Linked DNA regions of Homo sapiens: regions 1, 2, 3, 4 and 5 are each linked to region 6. The links are contacts of gene promoters, found by promoter capture Hi-C in blood cells and fetal thymus (Javierre and others, 2016). All regions are on one chromosome and are shown on one strand. The core of a region is centred on a gene start or on the middle of the fragment in contact, and the rest is flanking DNA. Distances in the headings are between cores, read along the strand shown. Region 1 overlaps ABCC1 (ATP binding cassette subfamily C member 1 (ABCC1 blood group)). Region 2 holds the start of BMERB1 (bMERB domain containing 1). Region 3 overlaps ABCC6 (ATP binding cassette subfamily C member 6). Region 4 overlaps MPV17L-BMERB1 (MPV17L-BMERB1 readthrough). Region 5 overlaps ABCC6 (ATP binding cassette subfamily C member 6). Region 6 holds the start of MYH11 (myosin heavy chain 11).

Region 1 (3,958 bases), core at 409-2,908, 280 kb before region 6:
TCCCCCAAAACTTAGTTTATCTAATGTGAAAGAATGGTATAACTTACAAAAAATAAATATATGCGTTTTCGCCTAAAAGAAAGATGCTCTCTGGGTTTGAAGTCGGCGGCGTAATTCTTAGCAAGTCTGAGTCTTGGGGCAGCCTCAGCTCTGGCTGCCTTCCGGATTCCACTTTGGGCTCTAACGAGACACCTTAAAGAACAGGCTTTAAAAGATGCTGCTTCCCTGTTTTCTTCCAGGAACACAGAGACCAACACGGTTTCAAACACAGGGCGAGCTTCTCACTATTTCCTGGGAATGTTACTTCTCAGCCCAACACTTCTATTCCCAAGAAGTTCAAGTTTTGAGACTGTTTTTCTCCCCGGAACAGTACTTAAAAAAAAAAAATCATTGATATTCAAAGATGGGTTCTTTTCGTGTCCTGGAAGAGCATCAGTAACTAAATATCAAGTTCTCCACAATGCTGCCCCCCCTGGGGGGCTAACCGGATGCCAAGGGAGAGAATTAACATCTAAAAACAAGGAAAAGACTCAAGGGGACATTTTTTTGGTACCCACTGGTAATACTTGGGAGGTATTTCGTGTTCTTTACTTTGAAAGCTTCATAACCATGAGCAGGTACCATGAGAGGGAAAGAAAAGAGGTGGTAAGAAAAAAGAACAAAATCAATCAACACTGTAAGCAACCAACACTGCTTTGGGCCAGGCCCCTAACACATTTTTCTGCTAGGACTGGCATAGTACCTTCCAGCTGGTTGCTCACTCTCAGTCTCTATTTCTAGTCAAGGTCAAATTCCCATGAGGCCATCTCCTTAATATTTACCCCACATCAATCATGGTGGGAACAGTAATAACAGCATTGATTGTTCTTACAATGTTGAACAAAAGAAAAAAGGGAAAGCCTGGAGTCGGGGTGGGTGGGGAGGGAAGCCCCAGGTGGAACGTCGGCCCTGAGACAATCCCCTGGCCCTACAGTTCCAGGTCCAGGTTAGCCGTTAGTCCAACCAGGTCCCTTCCAGGAGGACAGGCGTGGGAGTGCAGAGGCTGCCTCTGGCCCAAAACGAGAACTGGTAGAGCTGGCGCTGAGATGCTGGTTCCCAGCTTTTGAGTGCCTGGAAGACCAGATGTTGGTAAGAGGACCATCCAGGGCCCTGGGACACTGCCAAGGGGAGAAAATGATTTTCTCCAGGCCCCTCAACCACAAAACTGCAGCCCCAAGGAAATGAAGCGTTCCTGGTAGACCCAGACAAGGATGTTAGAGGTGATGGGAGCCAGAAGCATCTCAAAGACTTGCAGTCCACAGACTTCGGCTGGAGAGATCCGAGGCAGTAGGCTGAATTTGGTCACTAGGATCTTCTATACAACCAATTCCTCCAGAAGTCTGGCTGCCAAAACTCCTCCGTGGGAAGCACCAGGAAACCACTTGCATTCCTGGGGGCGTGAGGCTGTGTGTCTGTCTCAGGGCACCAGGGGCAGGGTGTGCGTGTTTTGGGTGGTTCGCATCTCTGTCTCTCCTGGGTCTTCACAGCCAGTTCCAGGCAGGGGACCGGATGGCGGTGGCTGCTGCTTTGAATATGTTTTGGTTGTCTGGGTTTGGTTTTTATGTTTTGGTTTCAGTGTGGGAGGCTTGGTTTACCAGGGGTACTGACTCCTCCCTGGGCGCTGGCATATAGGCCCTGCAGTTCTGACCAGATATGCCAGCTCTGGGGCTCACACCAAGCCGGCGTCTTTGGCCATGCTGTAGAAAAGACCTCTCTGCTGCAGGAGGTCCGATGGGGCGCCGTACTCCTGGATTTCTCCTTTGTCCAAGACGATCACCCTGAGGGAGAGGGGATACAGACATGAGGGGAAGGGGAGGGGTGAGCACCTCGTGCCCCTGGGACAACTGACCTGGGCAAGTCACTGCTTCGGGTCAGGCCCCTAACACTTTTTGCTAGGACTGGTGCAGTACCTTCCAGCTGGTTGCTCACCCTCAATCCCTATTTCTAGTCAATGTCAGATTCCCATGAGGCCAGCTCCTTAATATCTACCCCACATCAATCATGGTGTGAATGGTATTAACAGTGTTGACTGTTCACATTCACTGTTCCATTACATTCAGAGTAAAATAAAAAGATCTTACCACAGTCTACAATAACGATTGGCAACATTTTTCTGAAAAAGGCCAGATAGTAAATACTTGAGGCTCTGCAGGCCATATGCTTTCTGTTACAACTACGCATCTCTGCTGTATTTATAGTGTGAAAGCTGCCAGAGACAACAGGAAAATGAACAGATGTGGCTGCGTGCCAATAAAACTTTATTCATAAAAACACGCAGGGGGCCAGATCTGTGGCCTGTGGGCCATAGTTGGCTGACCCCTAATATTTTAGGTCCTGTAAGATTTGACACTGCCCACTTCTGTCCTCATTTCTATGTCCTATATTTCAAAAGCACCAACTCAGCATCTGCCACTTAGTAGGTGGTACTCAGTGAACTAGAAACATCATGTCAGCTGGGTGCAGAGACTCACGCCTATAATCCCAGCACTTTGGAAGGCTGAGGCAGGAGGATCACTTGAGGCCGCAGTGAGCTGTGATCCCACCACTGCACTCCAGCCTGGGCGACAGGGTGAGACCCTGTCTCAAAAATATATAAAATAAAATAGAAACTCATGTCACTTCCCTGCTTAAAACCTTCCAATGGCTTTATAGGGCTCTTAGAGTAAGTTCCAAGCTTCTCACCGTGGTTACATGGTGCTCTAAGATCCAGCCCCTGCCTACCTTTCTGGCCTAATCTCCTGCCCCTGTCCACTCAATTCCAACCTCTAGGTACATGGCCTCCTCATGCTAGCCTTCAAATTCATTAAGCGCATTCATTTTTACATTCGGCTGTACCGGCTGCCTAGAATGTTCTTCCTTTAGATCCAAGGTTGGCAAACTGTGGCCTGCAGGCCAAATCTGACCCCTTGCCTGTTTTTATGAATAAAGTTTTATTGGAACATAGCCATGCTCATTCATTCGTGCACTATCTATGACTGCTTTCACACGGCAACACTGGAGTCAAGTGGCTGAGAGGCCATGTGGCCCACAAAGCTGAAACTACCCCGGCCCTTAAGAACAAGGTTGCAGATCGCTGTCCCAGATCTTCTCAAGGCTGACTCCTTTTCATTGTTCAGGTCTCAGCTAAAATGTCACCTCTTCAGAGATGACCCACACAAAACTCAAAACCCCCCAGGACCCTGGCACTATGGCAGCATTCTGACTTTTGTGGTCCCCGGCACTGATGCCTACGGAGGTGGCTTTCTCCACACAAAATGCTAGAAATTCTATTTTATGACTGTGTTAGTATAAATAAAATCCAGGTTGGATTATATTCTTTTTTTTTTTTTTTTTTTTTTTGAGATGGAGTCTCACTCTGTTGCCCAGGCTGGACTGCAGTGGCACAATCTCAGCTCACTGCAACCTCCACCTCCCAGGTTCAAGCAATTCTCCTTCCTCAGCCTCCCAAGTACCTGGGATTATGGGCACGCACCACCACACTTGGCTACTTTTTGTATTTTTAATGGTGACAGGGTCTCACCGTGTTGGCCAAGCTGGTCTCAAACTATCGACCTCAGGTGATCTGCCTGCCTCGGCCTCCCAAAGTGCTGGGATTACAGCCGTGAGCCACCGCACCTGGCCTGCTTCTGATTTTTTAAAAAAAATAAAACCTTTTTGTGGGCCCCACGCACTGGGCCTGCAGTGTTCAATGGAAACAGTGGCCCTGCCCAGCACTCGCTATCCCGTCTCCTTGGCAAGCGTCCTTCCCAGCACCTGCTGCCCTCTGGAATCCTGTTGGTTTATTGCTCTGTATATTTTTTGTCTCCTCCATCTAATAAGCTACTTGGTCCTGGAGGCAGGGACTTTGTCTGACAGCAGCCTACAGAGTCCCCAGTGTCTGGGAACACCGCAGGTGCGCTGACGTGAATGAATGACTAGA
Region 2 (3,914 bases), core at 222-2,721, 420 kb after region 6:
ACTTAAAAATTAAAGAAAGAAACAGAGACCCTCAGCCCTGACGCCCTGATATTATGCCAAAGCACCAAGTCATTGGGTCTTGAAAGGATGAACTAGAAAGAAAGACCAAGGTTAAAAAGGGAGAAAAAAAAAGAAAAGGAAAGAGGTTGGCAGTGCTATGACATCCATCCTAGCCCATGAACCACTAAGACATTGGATTGTGATTTCAACTTCAACCCGTCAGAATCAGAACACAGTTGAGCCCTTCTAGGAAGATTTTCTAAATCCATAATTACAGGTATAGAGAAAGAAAGCGCGCACACACAATTTTCCACCAGGTGAGGACAGAATAAGATCACATTCACAATACTTTAGCCCTACATCGCTCAGAGATCCGTGCTGGGGCAGAGCGCGGAGCAGTGACCCAGAGCCGAGGCAGGAAGCTGCCGGGTCCCTGAGAAGGACCTCTCCTTCCCAGCCTGGTGGGCAAGCCATGTGAGAGCAGCGGCTTTGGGGAGCCCCCGGGTTTGCAGGGACCTCCAGTGACCCTGGAGCCCCTGACGCTGCCTCTACACTTTGAGGGCAGGAGTTTCAACTATTGTATCCTATTAATGAAAAACAAAATCCTTCGTTTACTTAGAAATGTTGACATCCAAACACCGCAGAGAGAACCAGTAAATAAATACAGCCGGTCTATTTCGAAACTGCCTTCTAGAGTTGTGCCCAAGCAGACTTTAACTGAGTCAAGAGAGAAAAGAGAACGGTGTGTGCCTTTTGACCCTTTTGCCGCCCCAAGCCTCCCACCCCGACCCAAGGAAGGCGAGGGAGGAAAAGCTGGGAATTTCAGGTGCGCTCCGAAACCTCACGCAGGGGGTAGGAAAGCAAGCGGAAAACCAGCAGACACTCCCCCCTCTCCAGGGACGTGGGCGCTTTCCAGGACGGTCCCGCGTCTCCAGCGCCCTGGCGCATCCCAGGCGGAGAGAGGATCCTCCTCCCTGGGCTGTGGGAGAGACCCGACTTCACAGGACCAGCTGCGAGCTGACGGATCCGGGACTCCTAAGTCGAGCCCAGGCTCCTGCCTTAGCTGCCTGGCCATCTCCCAACCCTCCCAGTGAGGCTCAGCCCGGAGGGTCCCCCCCTTTTGTTCGCGGGGAGAGCGCGTCGCTGCGCAGAGCTGCGTATCCCCCTGAGCTGCCAGCCCCGCTGCGGGGGCGCTTCCCTGGGTCCACTGCTGGCGTTCCTCGCGCTCCCGCGACCACCCGCGCAGGCGCATGGATCCCCAGCTGTCCCCGGCCCCCCGCCCCCCGCCCCAGTACTCACTTCTCCCCAGTCTCTCCGTTTTCCAAGCCGTCTCCTCCACCGCCCCATAGCGCCTCAGAGGCTTCTCGGCTTCCAGATGGGTGGACAAAGATTGCTTTAATTCCATCGCTGATCCCCGTGGCCAGGTCGACGGGTCTCCCTTTACTCCATTCCCGTTGCGGGCTGCAGGGAGGGAGGTGGCTCCAGCCAGCAGCGTTTTAACGGGCCGGGCGCCCGTGACGCTGCTCCCTCTCCTCCGCCGCCGCCAGCGCCCGGGAGCGCCTACGGGTACCCAGAAGGGGCAGGGATGCACGGCACATGCGCAGTGGAGGCTTGGAGGGGAGGCTTGGGGGCTGGGTAGGGAGACAGAGGGGCAGGTGATAACTCTAAGAAAAACAACAAACAAAACAACTAAAATAAAAGCAACACAAAGGAAGTGAGAACAAGGCCCCTGCCTATTCTAGAGCCCCTAGTGATGCTTGGCATGGGGCTGGCACTGTGGGCGGCTTGCGAGCTGTAAGCCGGCAGCGGGTTTTGAGTGGGATTGGTGAGCCCGTCTCTACCTGCGGGCGATGCATCCGTCTTTCTGGGGAGCATGCAGAGGCGTGAGTGTGGACCTAGATCTATGGGTTCTGGGCTTGGCTGACTGCTTTTCTGTGAGAATATCTGTCGTGTGCGTCTGTTTAATTTGAAGTGCGACAGTGGATGCCTATGTCAGTTCCATATGTGTTTGCATGCACTTTGGGGAGAGAGAGAGAGAGATGAAAATATTTTGCACACAGGTATAGCAGAGCTGTTTGGAGCATGGGGCTTTACTTTCCAGAAACCCCAGAGGTTTATCTTTAAAAACAAACAAACAAACAAACAAAAAACACCATGGCAGTGCCTGGGCACGATGGCTCATGCCTGTAATCCCAGCACTTTGGGAGGCCGAGGTGGGTGGATCACTTGAGGCCAGGAGTTTGAGACTAGCCTGGCCAACATGGTGAAACCCCATCTTTACTGAAAATACAAAAATTAGCCAGCTGTGATGGCGCAGGCCTGTAATTCCAGCTACTCGGGAGGCTGAGGCAGGAGAATCGCTTGAACCTGGGAGGCAGAGGTTTCAGTCATCCGAGATCATGCCATTGCACTCCAGCCTGGGCAACAAGAGGAAAACTCCGTCTCAAAAAAAGAAAAGAAACGAAAAAAAGAAAATGATATCCCAGTAGGAAACAGGGAAAGAATATGAATAGTCATGTCATGTGGGCAGAGGAGGAAGGCCTAATGTGAGAAGCTGCTCAACCCCCTTAGTAATAAGGAAAATGAAAATGTAAATAAGAATATATCATCCGATAGGCAAAAACTAAAAAATCTAACAATCATGTGTTGTAAAAGATGTGGATTTTTTTTTTGAGACAGAGTCCAAAAATGCTGGGGTTACAGATGTGAGACACCATGCCTGGCATAATTTGAACTTTTATCTAATGCTAGTGGGAGTATAAATTGGTACAACTGTTTTTTTCTCTCTGTCACCCAGGCTGGAGTGCAGTGGCATAGTCTCGGCTCACTGAAACCTCCACCTCCTGGGTTCAAGCTCCTGAGTAGCTGCGACTACAGGCGTGCCACCATGCCCAGCTAATTTTTTGTATTTTTAATGGAGATGTGGTTTCACCATGTTGGCCAGGCTGGTCTCGAACTCCTGAGCTCAAGTGATCTGCCCGCCTTGGTCTCCCAAAGTGCTGAGACTACAGGAATGAGCCACTGTGCCTGGCTGCATGAATGTAATGTTTATTGTTCTCAGGTATATATGTATAACTCTACAAATTATATATAATAGCGCTATTTAACATTTTCTTATAATTTATACAAATGATATCATACTTTATAATTCTGCAAGTTGCTTTTTTCTGTTGTTGTTCCACAATATGCTTTTCTTCCTTTTAAAAAGATAGAGACAGGTTTTCACTGTGTTGCTCAGGCTGGTCTTGAATTCCTGGGCTCAAGTGATCCACCTGCCTCAGCCTGCCAAAGTGCTAGGATTACAGGCGTGAGCCACCGTGCCCGGCCCACATTATGCTTTTGAGAAATACGAATTCTGATTCATGTAACTCTGGTTCATAGTCTACTGTATAGTATTCTACATGAATGAACCATAATTGGTCTATTTTTTCATTGATGAGGTATAAAGATTATTCCCAATTGTCCACAATTACAAACATGGCAGCAGCAAATGTTTTTATACTCATTTCCCTGTACGACTGAATAGGAGTTTTTCTAGGGGGAAAAATTACAATGGCATGGGGTATGCACATCTGCCAGTTGGACTAGAGTGTCAACCTGCTTTTAAAATTAGTTGTACCAGGCCAGGCACAGTGGCTCACGCCTGTAATCCCAGCACTTTGGGAGGCTGAGGCGGGCGGTTAGTCTGAGGTCAGGAGTTCGAGACCAGCCTGGCCAACATGCTGAAACCCCGTCTCTACTAAAAATACAAAAAAAAAAAAAAAAAAAAAAATTAGCCGGGCCTGGTGGCGCACACCTGTAATTCCAGCTACTCAGGAGGTTGAGGCAGGAGAATCACTTGAACCCGTGGGACGGAGGTTGCAGTGAACTGAGATCATGACACTGCACTCCAGCCTCAGTGACAGTGAGACGCT
Region 3 (3,418 bases), core at 840-3,339, 310 kb before region 6:
CACTCATTTATGCATCCCACCCACTCATTTATCCATCCCACCCACCCATTTATCCATCCCACCCACCCATTTATCCATCCCACTCACTCATTTATGCATCCCACCCACTCATTTATCCATCCCACCCACCCATTTATCCATCCCACTCACTCATTTATGCATCCCATCCATTCATTTATCCATCCCACCCACTCATTTAGCCATCCCACCCACTCATTTATCCATCCCACCCACTCATTTATCCATCCCACTCATTTATGCATCCCACCTACTCATTTATCCATCCCACCCTCCCATTTATCCATCCCATCCACTTATTTATCCATCCCACCCACCCAACCACTCATTTATCCATCCCACCCACCCATTTATCCACCCACCCACCCACCCATTCATTTATCCATCCATCCCACCTACTCATTTATCCATCCCTCCCACCAACTCATTTATCCATCCCACCCACTCATTTATCCATCCATCCCACCCACTCATTTATCTGTCCATCCCATCCACTCATTTATCCATCTATCCCACCCACTCATTTATCTGTCCAACCCATCCACTCACCCACCTACTCATTTATCCATCCCATTCGCTTACCCATCCATCTATCCCACCTAACAATACATCCAACCATTCCCTCACCTATGCATCTGTCTGTTCAGCTGTTCATCCATTCATTGATCTTTCCATCCATTCATCCACTCATTCACACACCTACCTACCTACCCACCCGCTCATTTATTCACCCACCTACCCTCTCATCCATCCAGCAAACATGTACACAATACCCACTATGTGCCAGGCTAAGTCTGGTAGAGATTAGACACTAGTGAGGATAGACGGAGAGTAAATAATTATGCTAATAAGTAAGCTATGTCCAATAACAATAAGTGCTATAAAGAAAATAAGAATGATCAGGCGCAGTGGCTCATGCCTGTAATCCCAACACTTTCAGAGGCTGAGGCAGGAGGATTGCTTGAGGCCAGGAGTTCGAGGCTGCAGTGAGCTATGATCATGTCACTGCAATCCAGCCTGGGTGACAGAGTGAGACCCTGCCTCTTAAAAGAAAGAATGATGAAATAGAGACCACTGAGAAACCCTACCATGGTTGGTATGGACAGGATGCTCTGAGAAGTGACATTTGAGCTTCCCCAAAGAATGTGTGAAGGAACCAGTCATACAAAGGGCAGGAGAAAGAGCGCTCCAGGCAGAGAGAGCAGCAGGTGCAATGGCTCCGAGGTGGGAAGTAGCTTAGGGTGCCAGAGAAAGGGGTCCCATGAGGCTGGCAGGCAGTGAGTGGGGGCGAGATAAGAAGCTTGGAATTTCTTTCTTTCTTTCTTTCTTTCTTTCTTTCTTTTTTTTTTTTTTTTTTTTTTGAGACAGAGTTTCACTCTTGTCGCCCAGAGAAGAGTGTAATGGTGCAATCTCAGCTCACTGCAACCTCCACCTCCTGGCTTCAAACGATTCTCTTGCCTTAGCCTCTCGAGTAGCTGGGACTACAGGTGCCTGCCACCACACGTGGCTAATTTTTGTATTTTTAGTAGAGACGGGGTTTCACTACGTTGGTCCAGGCTGGTCTCAAACTCCTGAGCTCAGGTGACACACCCGCCTTGGCCTCCCAAAGTGCTTACAGGTATGAGCCACCCCTCCTGGCTGGGATTTCTTCTAAGAGCAAGAGATAGCCATGGACAGGCCAACGACAAGATATAATTAGATTAATGTTTTCAACAGTCCCGTCTGGCTGCAGCTGTGCAGAGAACTTCAGATTTGTAGGAGCAGGACCTTAAGCCAGTGGCTGAACCTCTCTGTGCCTCAGTTTCCTTATCTGTGAAATGGAGGTTGTTATAAGGAGAGACACATGCCTGACCTATGGTGGGTGTTCAAGAAAACCCTTCTAGCTGGGTGTGGTGGCTCACACCTGTAATCCAAGCACTTTGGAAGGCCGAGGAGGGAGGATCACTTGAGGCCAGGAGTCTGAGACTAGCCTGGGCAACACAGCGAGATTCCATCTCTTTAAAACTATGAAAATTAACAAAACATGGTGGTACAAACCTATAGTCCTGACTACTCGGGAGGCTGAGGCGGGGGGATTACTTGAGCCTAGGAGTTCAAGGCTGCAGTGAGCCATGATCATGCCAGTGTACTCCAGCCTGGGTGACATGGGCGACAAAGCAAGACCCTGTCCTCAAAAAAAAAACAAAAGAAAAAATATTAATACTAGCTCCCTGGGGATTGTATAGGAGATGGGGGTTCTAAGGCTGGCTGGGGCCTGTCGGGGAAATGGTGCTTCTGGTGGGAGGCACAGCGGGAGAACCAGTGAGGTCTGCGTGGTGGTCCCATCTGCCATGGGCATGTTTTCTGGGAGCCTCGCCTGGCCTTGCCTCAACCCACCCCTCCCACTGGGGGCTCTCTCTGCCTCCCTCTCCCTCATGTGTGCTACAGGTGAAGGCCACAGTGCACCTGGCCTACCTGCGTGCCGTGGGCACCCCCCTCTGCCTCTACGCACTCTTCCTCTTCCTCTGCCAGCAAGTGGCCTCCTTCTGCCGGGGCTACTGGCTGAGCCTGTGGGCGGACGACCCTGCAGTAGGTGGGCAGCAGACGCAGGCAGCCCTGCGTGGCGGGATCTTCGGGCTCCTCGGCTGTCTCCAAGGTACGCCTCACCTGCCCTCCTCATCCCTCTCCTCCCAGCTGCACCAAGGGGTGCTCAGGACTCCTTTACCCCACCCCTCCCTGGGTCACCCTGTCCCCCTGGAACAGTGTGCAAAACGTCTGGGGTCCAGGCAAAGATCTGCGTCCTTAAGATGAGGCTGGAGGGAACGGGAAGGACAGGGCACATCCCTCCTTTTCTGGAAGCTTCAGAACCTCTCCCAGTCCCTCCCCACTAGCGGAAGGCGTCTGCAAGGCCTGCCTGCTGGTGGCTTTCAGTGCCTGCCCCCAAACCTCCAGACAGAGCCAGACCCTCCCTAACAAATGCATCACCGCTATCACTCCTTCTTCTCCTCCTCAAAAATGGAAAGACTTCTTCTTGAAATAATTGTAGATTCACATGCAGTTCTAGGAAATAAGGCAGCCAGCTACCTTGAACAGTCTGCCCAGTTTCTCCCATTGGTGATATTTTGCAAACTGATAGTAAAGTATCACACAAAGGATCCTGACACCCATCAATCCATGGATCTCAATTATTTATTTATTTATTTATTTGTTTATTTTATTTTGAGACAGAGTCTTGCTCTGTTGCCCGGGCTGGAGGGCAGTGCTGCCGTCTCGGCTCACTGCAACCCCCATCTCCGAGGTTCAAGCAGTTCTCCTACCTCAGCTTCCTGAGTAGCTGGAAGCTGGGATTACAAGTGTGCAGCCTGGTTAATTTTTGTATTTTTAGTAGAGATGGGGTTTCACCATGTTGGCCAAGCTGGTC
Region 4 (3,937 bases), core at 1,031-3,530, 440 kb after region 6:
CACCTGAGGTCAGGAGTTTAAGACCAGCCTGGCCAGCGTGGCAAAATCCTGCCTCTACTAAAACTACAAAAATTATCCGGGCATGGTGGTGCACACCTGTAATCCCAGCTACTCAGGAGGCTGAGGCAGGAGAATTGCTTGAACCAGGGAGATAGAGGTTGCAGTGAGCCAAAATGGTGCCACTGCATTCAGCTTGGGGGACAGAGTGAGACTCTGTCTTAAAGAAATAAAAATTATTAAAAAAAAAAAAAAGGATCCCCTGGACATACAATAAGTAATCTACTACTACTTAGGCAAATAAATAACAATTCTATCATTTGGGAATCTTAAGATCTGTTCTACCACTTTATGAACCTTCAGACTCAATCTCTATTTTAGAGATACTAACATTGATTGATCCCACTATGTGCCAGGCACTGTCCTTCACACCTTCACATATATGATCTCATTTAATCCTCATTTAATTTTGGCAGAGAAAGGTTGAGCTCCTTACCCAGGATCGTATAACTAGGAAATAAAGACCAAAGCACATGCCTCACTCTTCTTGTTATTAGAAAAAATTTCCTTCTGTAAACCTCAGGGACTTTACAAGTGAAATATTGGATTACTGTAATATGATTCATCAGCCCAATTTAATATTACCTATTCATTATAACGTAATGCTGCTCACACAACTGAGAAAACGCTGTTGCTTTACCCCCTCTGGCTCAGTAGCAGCCACACATAAATCACAAAACTATAAACATATGCTAATTACATAACCTATGTAGGCAATCAATATTAAGAAAAATGTTTACTGCCCAATATTTCTGTGGTTGAAAATGTACAGTCTAATTTTGATCTGCAGTAACATCTAGGTTAATGCTGATTCAGAAGGAAAACATTTGTTGTTGCCATGAGAAGAGGCATTGAAACTCTGAATCACCACCTCAAATGCTACCACTATTAATATAAGTAGATACATAGGAAGATCGAATTAGACCATCTCGGACCACCAGGTTTACAATTCTACCAGCAGATACATGCAAGAAGTATTGTCACAGTACTTATGTCACGTTATTCCATTGAGGTCATCACCAACTAAGCTTATAATTAATGTGTGGTCAATTTGGTCAATGTCACCAGCGTAGCATACTAACAAAAACAAGAGTTGCAAACACAAATGCCTATAAGGCAGAATGTAAGATGGTAGGAAGCAAAGTCTATAGGGAACTATACAATAGAGGCTGCAGATTCAAGGCACATTCTAAAGCACAGCAGTCCCCAACATTTTTGGCACCAGGGACTGGCTTTGTGGAAGACAATTTTTCCACAGGCAGCAAGGGATGGAGCGCAGGATGGTAATGGTCTTGGGATGAAACTGTTCCACCACAAATCATCAGGAATTAGATTCTCATAAGGAATATGCAACCTGGATCCCTTGTGTGTGCAATTCACAACAGGGTTTATGCTCCTATGAGAATCTAATGATGCTGCTGATCTAAGAGGAGGCAGAACTCAGGCAGCAATGCAAGCAATGGGGAGCGGCCAGAAATACAGATGAAGCTTCAATTGTCCACCCACTATTCACCTCCTGCTCTGTGGCCCAGTTCCTAACAGGCCACAGACCAGTACAGGTCCATGGCCCAGGGATTAGGGACCCCTGCTGCGGCACATTGCTTCATAGAGGACTGTAGCAGGCATGTGCCCAGACGTTTCCTTTTTTCTTTTCTTTTTTCTTTTCTTTTTCTTTTTTGAGACAGTCTGGCTCTGTTGCCCAGGTTGAAGTGTGTGAGTGTGATCGTGGCTCAACCTCCCAGCCTCAAGCAATCCTCTCGCCTCAGCCTCCCAAGTAGCTGGGATTACAGGCGCACTCTACCACACCCAGCTAATGTTTTTGTGTTATTTGTAGAGATGGCGTTTTGCCATGTTGCCCAGGCTGGTCTGGAATTCCTAAGCTCAAGCTGTCTGCCCATCTCCGCCTCCCAAAGTGCTGGGATTGCAGGAGTGCACCACCACACCTGGCCTGAAACCCAGATTTTATATATTTATTTATTTGTTTATTTATTTATTTTTGAGATGGAGTCTCGCTCTGTTGCCAAGGCTTGAGTGCAGTGGCGCAATCTTGGCTCACTGCAACCTCCACCTCCCTGGTTCAAGCAATTCTCCCACCTCAGCCTCCCGAGTAGCTGGGATTACAGGCACATGCCACCACGCCTGGCTAATTTTTGTATTTTTAGTAGAGACAGTTTCACCATGTTGGCCAGGCTGGTCTCGAACTCCTGACCTCAGGTGATCCACCTGCCTCAGCCTCCCAAAGTGCTAGGATTACAGGCATGCACCACCGCACCCAGCCTGAAACCCAGATTTTTACTATGAAATCAAAGTCTTCAAACCTTCTAGGTGTCATAAAAAGCACGCTGTGGACCATTAGTTTGCAACTGCCAACCTAAAATATCATAGACAGATAGGCAGATCACTTGAGGTCAGGAGTTCAAGACCAGTCTGGGCAACATGGTGAAATCCCATCTCTACTAAAAATACAAAAATTCGCTGGGTATGCTGGCACATGCCTGTAGTCCCAGCTACTCGGGAGGCTGAGGCAGGAGAATCGCTTGAACCTGGGAGGCGGAGGTTGCAGTGAGCCAAGATCATGCCATTGCACTGCAGCTTGAGCAACAGAGTGAGACTCCATCTCAAAAAAGATAAAAATAAAAATAAATTCTCCGTAGGATGGTCCTTTCTCTTTTCTTCTCACAGAGACCAGAGAGGATCCTCCGCTACCATCCTCTCTAAAGCAAGGCTGTTGAGTCCTTAAGTGTAAGAAGTGTAATAAGCCCTTAGCCTTATTACAATTATTCTGCCCTCCTGGAATGTTCAAGTGGTCATGGCACGGGCAGGGGGTGAGAGGAGAGAGCAGTGGGTTTGGTTGGGTTGTGGACAAAGAAAGAGGAAGGAAGAAAAGGATGAATAAAGATGTAGTTAGAGAAGGATACACTTAACAAAGGAGAAGAGAACTAGGAAAAGACAAGCTTTTACTTGATATATACCAAAAATGTTACTCAGTAATTACTGCCTTCTATTCACAAGGTTAGCTACAGTTCACAGATCTTCATGTGTTCCTAACCTTTCAACTCCAGCACATACTTTATCTTCAAATTCCAGATTTCCCTTTTTATGTATCAGCTGTTGAAAGTATTAAAAGAAACTTTTTCAGTCATTTTAATTGCATTAGCAGTGATTTAATTTTTTTAGATGCTAAACCTTATGGGTGAAAGTGGATTAAATGTAGCCAAATGCAACATCAAAATCTTCAGGCACAAAAACCCATTAACTTTTTAATACTCTCAGAAGATGAACCTAATTTCAAATGAAAGCTGCCTCCAGAATATATTGTTAAGCATATCCTAGATATAATTCATTCTAGCAAACATTCTGTAGAAATTCACATAACATTTTACTGTACTAAAAGTAAATTTCCCATGTAACAAAAACTATCTTTTCATAACTTCAAATGAATTTTAAAGGATGACTGACCGTCCTTGGAAGAGAAACAGTAAACAAATAAGGTTTATAGCAATGATGTATGAGTTAGAAATTGCAGTTCCAGGCCGGGCGCGGTGGCTCACACCTGTAATCCCAGCACTCTGGGAGGCAGAGGCAGGCAGATCACGAGGTCAGGAGGTTGAGACCATCCTGGCTAACACAGTGAAACCCCGACTCTACTAAAAATCCAAAAAAAAAAAAAATTAGTGGGTCATGGTGGCGGGCGCCTTTAGTCCCTGCTACTTGGGCTGAGGCAGGAGAATGGCGTGAACCCGGGAGACAGAGGTTGCAGTGAGGCGAGATCGCGACACTGCACTCCAACCTGGGCTACAAAGCGAAACTCTGTCTCAAAAAAAAAAAAAAAATTGCAGTTCCAGATAATCTCTCTATTAAAGAGACTGTCTACACTTAA
Region 5 (3,556 bases), core at 519-3,018, 330 kb before region 6:
TTCCTGCCCTTCTCCATCCACTCCCTCGTCCAGGTGAGGTGGGTGCAAGGGCTGGAGCCATCCTGGGAGAGTGCGTGGGCTACACCTGGCTCCAGCTTCCCTACCCCTGCCATTTGCAGAGGAGAGGGAAGACAGAGTGGGAGGGAGAGGGATGGTGTGGAGCTGGAAAAGAGGCGGGTAGGGGCAAGAACAGAGGCGGGCAGAGAGTACAGCAAATACATCTGGAAGGGGTCAGCCTTTGGAGGGCAATGTGCAGACCTTTCCACACACACCTCAGAACATGCATACTTGTCCATCTGCCCAGCAATTCCACATACAAGCAATCATGTCAGTTCCCTTTTTTATACAAAGCGATTTTGTTTCTCTTCCTTTGCTATCTCTAGTCCTTTCAGCATGGTGAAAACAAGAAACGGCGGCATACCTGAGCCATCTCCATGTTTTTTATTTTTTATTTTTATTTATTTATTTATTTGAGATGGAGTCTCACTCTGTCACCCAGGCTGGAGTGCAGTGGTGCAATCTCGGCTCACTGCAAGATCTACCTCGCAGATTCAAGTGATTCTCCTGCCCCAGCCTGCCAAGTAGCTGGGACCACAGGCATGCACAACCATGCCCAGCTAATTTTTTTTTTTTTTTTTGTATTTTTAGTAGAGATGAGATTTCACCATGTTGGCCAGGCAGGTCTTGAACCGCTGACCTCAGGTGATCTGCCCACCTTGGCCTCCCAAAGTGCTGATTACAGACATGAGCCACTGCACCCAGTCTTATTTATTTATTTATTGTGTTTTTAGTAGAGACAGGGTTTCACCATGTTGGCCAGGCCAGGCTGGTCTTGAACCCCCGACCTCATGTAATAAGCCCGCCTCAGCCTCCCAAAGTGCTAGGATTACAGGCATGAGCCACCGCGCCTGGCCGCCTTATTTATTTATTTATTTATTTATTTATTTATTTATTTAATTTATTTATTGAGACAGTGTCTCACTCTGTCACCCAGGCTGGAGTGCAGTGGCACGATCTCAGCTCACTGCATGCTCAAACTCCTGGACTCAAGTGATGCTTCTACCTCCCAGCCTCCTGAGTAGCTGGGACTACAGGCATGGGCCACCACATCCGGCTAATTTTTTTAATTTTTTGTAGAAACAAAGAGTCTTGCTATGTTCCCCAGGTCTCCAACTCCTGGCCTCAAGTGATCCTCCTGCACTTGGCTTCCCAAAGTGCTGGGATTACCGGCATGAGCCGCTGCACCTGGCCTAATCTCTATTTTAACGACTGGTCTCTTTCTTCCCCAAAGATGGGTTTGTGACTGGGAGAGAGCGCCCCCAGGTGGACAACATTTGAAATTGTTCCACACAATGGCTTGATAACCTTATTGGAAAAGCCACCATCCTCTTCCCAGATCTTGTCTGCAGAATGGCAGCTGGCTTGCTTCGGTGTCACTGATTTGTAGGATCGCAGAGGTGGGAGATCACCACCATCAAGGTCACCACTCGGGTTGCATCGTTTCCCATGAACTAGAAAGCTTTGTCCTCACGCCTCCTATGCACAGAGCTTGGTAGACAGGAAGCTGTTGCCACACATCTTGAGACACCGACACCCAAAACCTGAGTTCTTTGCTCTTCTTGCTGGGTGACCTGCGGCTTCGGTTTTCCTAGGCCCGGGTGTCCTTTGACCGTCTGGTCACCTTCCTCTGCCTGGAAGAAGTTGACCCTGGTGTCGTAGACTCAAGTTCCTCTGGAAGCGGTGAGTGCTGAGTCTGGCAGGAGGGGTGTGGGAGGGATGGGGGATGTGGGGGCCACCCCAGCCCATAATGGCAAGCCAGCATCAGTACTGGGGGGAGATGGGGGCTGCGGGCAATGGATGACACGTGCAGATCACGCCATCTGCGTGTCACTTGGAAACTGGCACCGTGCTGCTCTTCTTTCTGCTAGCCATTCAGCGACCACTCACTGAGCGCCCACTTTGTACCATCCTGGGTGTACAACAGGGAACACTCTAACACAGTGGTCCCCAAGCTTTTTGGCACCAGGGACTGGTTTTGTGGAAGACAGTTTTCCCACGGACCGGGGAGAGGCGCGTGGTTTTGGGATGATTCAAACACATTCCATTTATTGTGCCCTTTATTATTATTACATTGTACTATATAATGAAATAATTATACAACTCACCATAACGTAGAACCAGTGGGAGCCCTGAGCTTGCTTTCCGTCAACTAGATGGCCCCAAAGCGGGTGATGGGAGACAGAGATCATCAGGCATTAGATTCTTATAAGGAACACGCAACCCAGATTCCTCACATGCACAGTTCACAAGTGTTCGTGCTCCTTTGAGAATCTATTGCTGCTGCTGATTTGGCAGGAGGTGGAGCTCAGGCGGTGATGGGAGTGATGGGGAGTGGCTATAAACACAGATGACACTCTGCTCACCTGCCCTGCGCTCACCTCCTGCTGTATGGCCCAGTTCCTAAGAGGCTGCAGACTGGTACCAGTCTGTGGCCTGGGGGTTGAGGACTCCTGCTCTAACAGACCAGGTCCTTGTCCTCATGCAGAAAGTCCCAGGTAATAAGCATGACAGCATTTTGATCAAGCTGGAAAATAGCAGCATTTCAAGCACCATTGCACGATGAGACTTACCAAGCTCAAGTTACCTGGGCTTCCCCCTCCACCCCATCCTTCTTTTATGCCACGGGCCAAGACACCCTCCCCCTTGTTGCACTGAAGAACCTGGGCAAACTGTGTACCTGGAAAACACCCACATAGTGGTAAGAAGCCGAGCCTGTGGCATTCAACTGCCCAGGTCCAAATCCCAGCCCCAGCACTGACTAGCTGGGTGATCCTGACAAGTAGATCATCTCTCTGAGCTTCCGTGTTCCCATCTCCAAAATGGGCATGTTAATCGTTATAGCAGCTAATTGTGACGATGAATTTAATTGATCTGGGCTAAGCCATGAGAGCTTTGATTTTTAGAAAATCTTTCAGGCAATTCTAACTACGTCTTAAGGATCAAGAACCACTAATCTAATTACACTTGTTATCACAGTGAAATAATAATAATAATTAGTAGTAGTAGCAGTAGTATTTTTGAGACACAGTCTTACTCCGTCATCCAGGCTGGAGTGCAGTGGTGCAATCTTGGTTCACTGCAACCTCCGCCTCCTGGGTTCAAGCAATTCTCCTGCCTTAGCCTCTCAAGTAGCTGTGATTACAGGCGCCCACCACCACGCCTGGCTAATTTTTGTATTTTTTGGTAGAGGCAGGGTTTTGCCATGTTGGCCAGGCTGGTCTCAAACTCCTGACCTCAAGTGATCCTACCACCTCTGCTTCCTAAAGTGCTGGGATTACAGGCATGAGACACTGTGCCGGCCACAGTGAAATTAATAACACCCCCTTCACTCTGGGAAGGCTGGGATTTGATGATAATTTATTTCAGAAATTCACTAACTTTTTCCATAAATGACCAGATTGTGCATATTTTAGGCCTGTGGGCCACACAGTCTCTGTCACAACTGCTCAAAGCATGAAATAGAGAAATGAATGGATGTGGCCGTGTTCCAATAAAA
Region 6 (3,853 bases), core at 286-2,785:
GGGCAACGGCGGCCGGTGGCTGCGTGAAGGGCCCCCTCCCCCGACGCCGGGGAGCAGGAAGGCCACTCGGCACCATATTTAGTCAGGGGGAGCCGGCAGCCCAGAGCTGGTATGCGGCGCTGGGAATTCCTGCAGGAAGGAGTCCGCGCCTGCCCTTTTTGGGTTGTCTCCCGCCCGCCGCTCCCGCCGCTCCCGGGGAGGGGGACCGGCCCGGCCCGGCCCGGCCCGGGAACCTCGGAGGAGCTGGTGCCGCGCGGGGAGCGGAGCGCCCGGGCTGCCCGCGGGTCCCCGGCCTGGCGCGGGGCCAGCCCACCGCCTCGACTTCCTTTTATGGCCTGTGTGTGCGTGCGTGGACAGGAGCGGGGAGGGAGGGACGGGGAGAAGACGGAGAGCCTGGGGAAGAGAGAGAGAGAAAGCGCAGAGATAGGAGTGAGACACGCGGGAGAGATGGAGAGCAAGAGACACAGAGACCAGAGACAAAGTGAGACAGGAGGGAGAGACAGATACATCGACAGATCTAGAGAAGCGAGAGGGACAGAGACAAAAGATAGAGCGAGAGACAGCAATGATCAGAGTGACAGACATGCAGAGACAGTGGCAGAGACAGAGCGAGAGAGCCTGTGATGGAGAGAGACAGGGAATGCAATTTTAGGCGAGGAATCCTTGGGGAAGGGAAGTTGTTGAAGGGAACTCGCAGACTCTGGGGGCACACCCACTTTCTCCTTGGATCTTGACACTTGCATCTTGTAAATAACGTAATTATCACCGCCACCGCCTTCCCCCATTTTGTAGCTATGGACACCAAGTCTCAGAGAAGTGAAGTGACTTGCCCAAGGTCACGCAGCTGGCGAGTGGCGCACAGGGGAGGGGGACAGCTGAAATAATCACAGTGGGCTTATTTTTAATTTTTATTTGTATTTTGGTCGTGGTGATGTGGGTGGAGGTGGAGATGGCAAGTTGGGAAAAGTAAAAACTTCCCCTTCCTGCACGGTTCCCAGCAAGGGTGGGGGCCTCCTGTCTTGCACTTTGCAAAGTTCAAGAAATCCCCTTTCCCTACCCTTCACGCTGCACAGCCGGCCCTCTTTCCAGACAGTGCGATGCCAATAAAATGGGAAGTGGGGTGGGAGATGTCAAGTCAGATCCACCACAGCCCCGACACGGGGAGGAAGAGGTTAAAGCCTTTGCGGCCGGAACCGACTCAGGGAAGACGTTCTCAAGCATCCCGCACAGACACTGCCTGCTCGACCCCCTTTCTCTAGGGATCCGGAGCGTCTGCGACCGCCTGGGGCCGGGGCTGAGACTCCCGTCCCTGTGCGCACCTGTTCCGTGCGCCCTTGTGCGGTGCGCACCTGTTCCGTGCACCCTTGTCCCGAGCGCCCCAGCTCCTTGCGCTCCCGCCGGGGGTGCGCCCTGCAGGGGGCGCGGCGAGGGGGCCGCGAGGGACCCTCCCCAACTCCACCCCTTCGGCCTCCTCCCCTTTCCCAGCCGCGGGCAGCTCCGGGTCTATAAAGAGAGGCGTCCGAGGACGCGCAGGGAGATTTGGACGCTCCGGCCTGGGAGGTGCGTCAGATCCGAGCTCGCCATCCAGTTTCCTCTCCACTAGTCCCCCCAGTTGGAGATCTGTAAGTAGTAGTTGTCATTCTGGGGGCAGATTGCAGGGCAGGGGGGTGTTAAAAGTCCTATAGGGTATTCTATAGGGGCTGGGGTGCACTTAGGGGTCCCTGTTGTCAACCTCGTAAGGGCCATGGTGGGGGCAGAGTTGTGATTTGGATCTCTCTCTGCCTTATCGTCTTAGATTATCCTAGACTTTCCCCAAACAGCATTTCTTAAGATTGCCAGTGAGAAGTACCATTTTGGGGGTGCTTATTAACGATATCAATGCCTGGACCCAACTCCATTTCCCAACTCTAGAATCCCCAGAAAAACTGCCTTAAAAAAAAAAAAATTAGTCCCGAGTGATTCTTGTTAAGAGGCTAATCCAGGAGATATGCTCCCTTGGAAATCTCAGAGGTCCGGTGCAGACAATCAAGGCATCTCACTTTTATTCTAGGCACCAAAAAATTTACAGCTGAACTTCACTGAAAAGTCACTTGCTATCACACAGAAGGGCAAAGTGAGGCTCCTTGTGGATTTGACCGTATTGCACAGTTGTGTTGATAATGCATTAAATCAGTTAAAAACACATGGGCATAGGCTTAGCAGAAAGGAGTGTTGTTGTTTTTTTTTTTTAATCAGTTTAGGGGAGGTTCTTCTATGTTGAGAACCCCTGGGAGATAAGGCTGGTTGTGATCTAGTTTGTTACAGCCCACTTTTTCCTCTTCTCCAAATTAAAAAAAAAAAAAACAACTCACCCAGGTTGACCCCAAAGGGCCCCCAGATACCCAGGTGGGCTCCAAAGTCTCCATTTGCTTCCACGATCTGCAGGTGCGTTAGGTAAGATTACACTAGAATTTCCCGCAGAGCCACCTGTGTCAATGCCACTCTCGTGCCCAACCAAATGGGTAAAACGAGAGAAAGTGTGGCTACTGCCTGTTGTAAGTTTTCTTCCAGCACAGGGTCTGGTAGGGATTTTGCCACTTGAGAAAAGGTACCATCCAAAGCCATGCTTGTCAAGAAGTAAAAGAAAATATTTAGAAACCCAAGGTGGGAGTGTTTAGTTGCAGTATGAAGAACTGAGAGATTAAATGGTGAACTGTCCGTCCGGGGTTTGGCAAAAAGAATGCAGGCTATTAATAAACTGCTTTGCATAGTTTTTTGTTTCTTTGATTTACTCAACGATACTATTTTAGAATTGTTCAGAGACGGAACTTGACGCTGAACTGAAAGTCATTAGGTGGCAGGGTGTGAAATAAGATAGAGAATTTTGTTTGAAGGAAATTGATGTTTTCCCTTTGAGATAGCTACCGTTGATGGAACACTTCAGTGCCACATGCTGTTGCAACATTTAACTTAATTTATCTCATTTAATCTTTGCAACAACTTCATAAGAAAGGCTTTATGATGCCTGTTTAGTATACAAGGCAGCTGAGGCTCAGAGAGGTAAAGTGTCACACAGCCAGCAAGTGGTAGAACCCATTCCCGGGTCAGTTTGAGTCCAAGTTCATACCCTTGACCCCACTATCTTTCTTCTTTACCATGGACACAAACTTGTTGGGGTCAGGTTTCTGGTGGGACTAAATGCTTCCAACAAAGTAAATGTTTATCACCGTGTCCTTTGAAGAAAACATAAACTGACTTTTTGCACATTTAAAATAAAAGGCACTGTTTGTCCCCTGATTGAGGGGGTGACCTAGCTGAAACCAGTGACCCTAGGTGGGCTGCCATGCCGAGAGTCCAGAACGTGAACTAGCTGGGTCTTTTCCGAGAAGCCGCCAGGCTTGCCTTGTAAACACCATGTTTTTTTATTATCATGTCCGAAATAGATGTGTTATTCCGTACAAGGTATCTGTTATGGATTTGTTATCATTACTTTTCCGTGGGAGGGCAGAGATTGAGGCAAACATGCCCATTTATGGAAGCGTTTTCCATGAGGCCATCCCCGGCCCCCTCGTCAGTTACCCAGCCTTGCACCGCAGCCCGGTTGGTCCTGGCCCTGGGGATTTGTCTACCATGTCCCTCACCCATTGAAGAACTAGTGGAGAAACCCTAAGGAGAAGAGATTTGGGAGGAAAGTGGGATTCTTTTTTCCTACCCCCTCTTATTCAGAGGTTTGATTTTTTTGGGTGGGGGGTGGGAGGGAATTGTCTCCTTTCCACAGGTCTTGAATCCAAACAGGTGGGTCTTCCACGTTAGGCACAAGCGTGTAATTCCAAGAGCAGATATATAGTAGATTTTTCTTGAAAACCAAGTTCAA

Evidence for each region. Contacts are between HindIII fragments. The CHiCAGO score rates a contact against its expected background, and 5 or more counts as called.
Region 1: a contact is called between a fragment that was not itself captured here and the fragment with the promoter of MYH11 in region 6, in 16 of 17 cell types (endothelial precursors, megakaryocytes, M0 macrophages and 13 more). The highest score is 27.2, in endothelial precursors.
Region 2: the fragment with the promoter of BMERB1 here is called in contact with the fragment with the promoter of MYH11 in region 6 in 3 of 17 cell types (neutrophils, monocytes and M2 macrophages); the score reaches 7.2 in neutrophils.
Region 3: a contact is called between a fragment that was not itself captured here and the fragment with the promoter of MYH11 in region 6, in 3 of 17 cell types (erythroblasts, endothelial precursors and megakaryocytes). The highest score is 7.9, in erythroblasts.
Region 4: a fragment that was not itself captured here is called in contact with the fragment with the promoter of MYH11 in region 6 in 3 of 17 cell types (neutrophils, M2 macrophages and endothelial precursors); the score reaches 6.1 in neutrophils.
Region 5: a contact is called between a fragment that was not itself captured here and the fragment with the promoter of MYH11 in region 6, in 10 of 17 cell types (megakaryocytes, endothelial precursors, erythroblasts and 7 more). The highest score is 16.1, in megakaryocytes.

Annotation. Positions count from the first base shown.
Region 1 is chr16:16,139,032-16,142,989 of GRCh38, reverse strand. ABCC1 (ATP binding cassette subfamily C member 1 (ABCC1 blood group)) reads right to left here. Exons shown (of 31, transcript NM_004996.4): 31 at 1-1,817. The coding sequence ends at 1,709. Among named protein-coding and RNA genes, the nearest start is that of ABCC6, 82 kb to the left of the region's middle. The HindIII fragment of the contact is 2,114 bases long and covers 602-2,715 here.
Region 2 is chr16:15,432,145-15,436,058 of GRCh38, reverse strand. It overlaps BMERB1 (bMERB domain containing 1), which reads right to left and starts at 1,471. Exons shown (of 6, transcript NM_033201.3): 1 at 1,300-1,471. The coding sequence starts at 1,405. All of the region lies in intron 1 of MPV17L-BMERB1 (MPV17L-BMERB1 readthrough), which reads right to left. RefSeq lists an enhancer at 545-1,167. The HindIII fragment of the contact is 15,111 bases long and covers 1-3,914 here.
Region 3 is chr16:16,168,881-16,172,298 of GRCh38, reverse strand. It overlaps ABCC6 (ATP binding cassette subfamily C member 6), which reads left to right. Exons shown (of 31, transcript NM_001171.6): 22 at 2,446-2,653. Among named protein-coding and RNA genes, the nearest start is that of ABCC6, 53 kb to the left of the region's middle. The HindIII fragment of the contact is 1,538 bases long and covers 1,321-2,858 here.
Region 4 is chr16:15,412,531-15,416,467 of GRCh38, reverse strand. The region is part of intron 1 of MPV17L-BMERB1 (MPV17L-BMERB1 readthrough); the gene reads right to left. MPV17L (MPV17 mitochondrial inner membrane protein like) reads right to left here. Exons shown (of 4, transcript NM_001128423.2): 4 at 3,197-3,937. Among named protein-coding and RNA genes, the nearest start is that of MPV17L-BMERB1, 19 kb to the right of the region's middle. The HindIII fragment of the contact is 1,466 bases long and covers 1,548-3,013 here.
Region 5 is chr16:16,185,308-16,188,863 of GRCh38, reverse strand. ABCC6 (ATP binding cassette subfamily C member 6) reads left to right here. Exons shown (of 31, transcript NM_001171.6): 13 at 1-33; 14 at 1,653-1,740. Among named protein-coding and RNA genes, the nearest start is that of ABCC6, 36 kb to the left of the region's middle. RefSeq lists a silencer at 2,291-2,464. The HindIII fragment of the contact is 493 bases long and covers 1,522-2,014 here.
Region 6 is chr16:15,854,710-15,858,562 of GRCh38, reverse strand. It overlaps MYH11 (myosin heavy chain 11), which reads left to right and starts at 1,535. Exons shown (of 41, transcript NM_002474.3): 1 at 1,535-1,622. RefSeq lists an enhancer at 1-489. The HindIII fragment of the contact is 5,018 bases long and covers 1-3,853 here.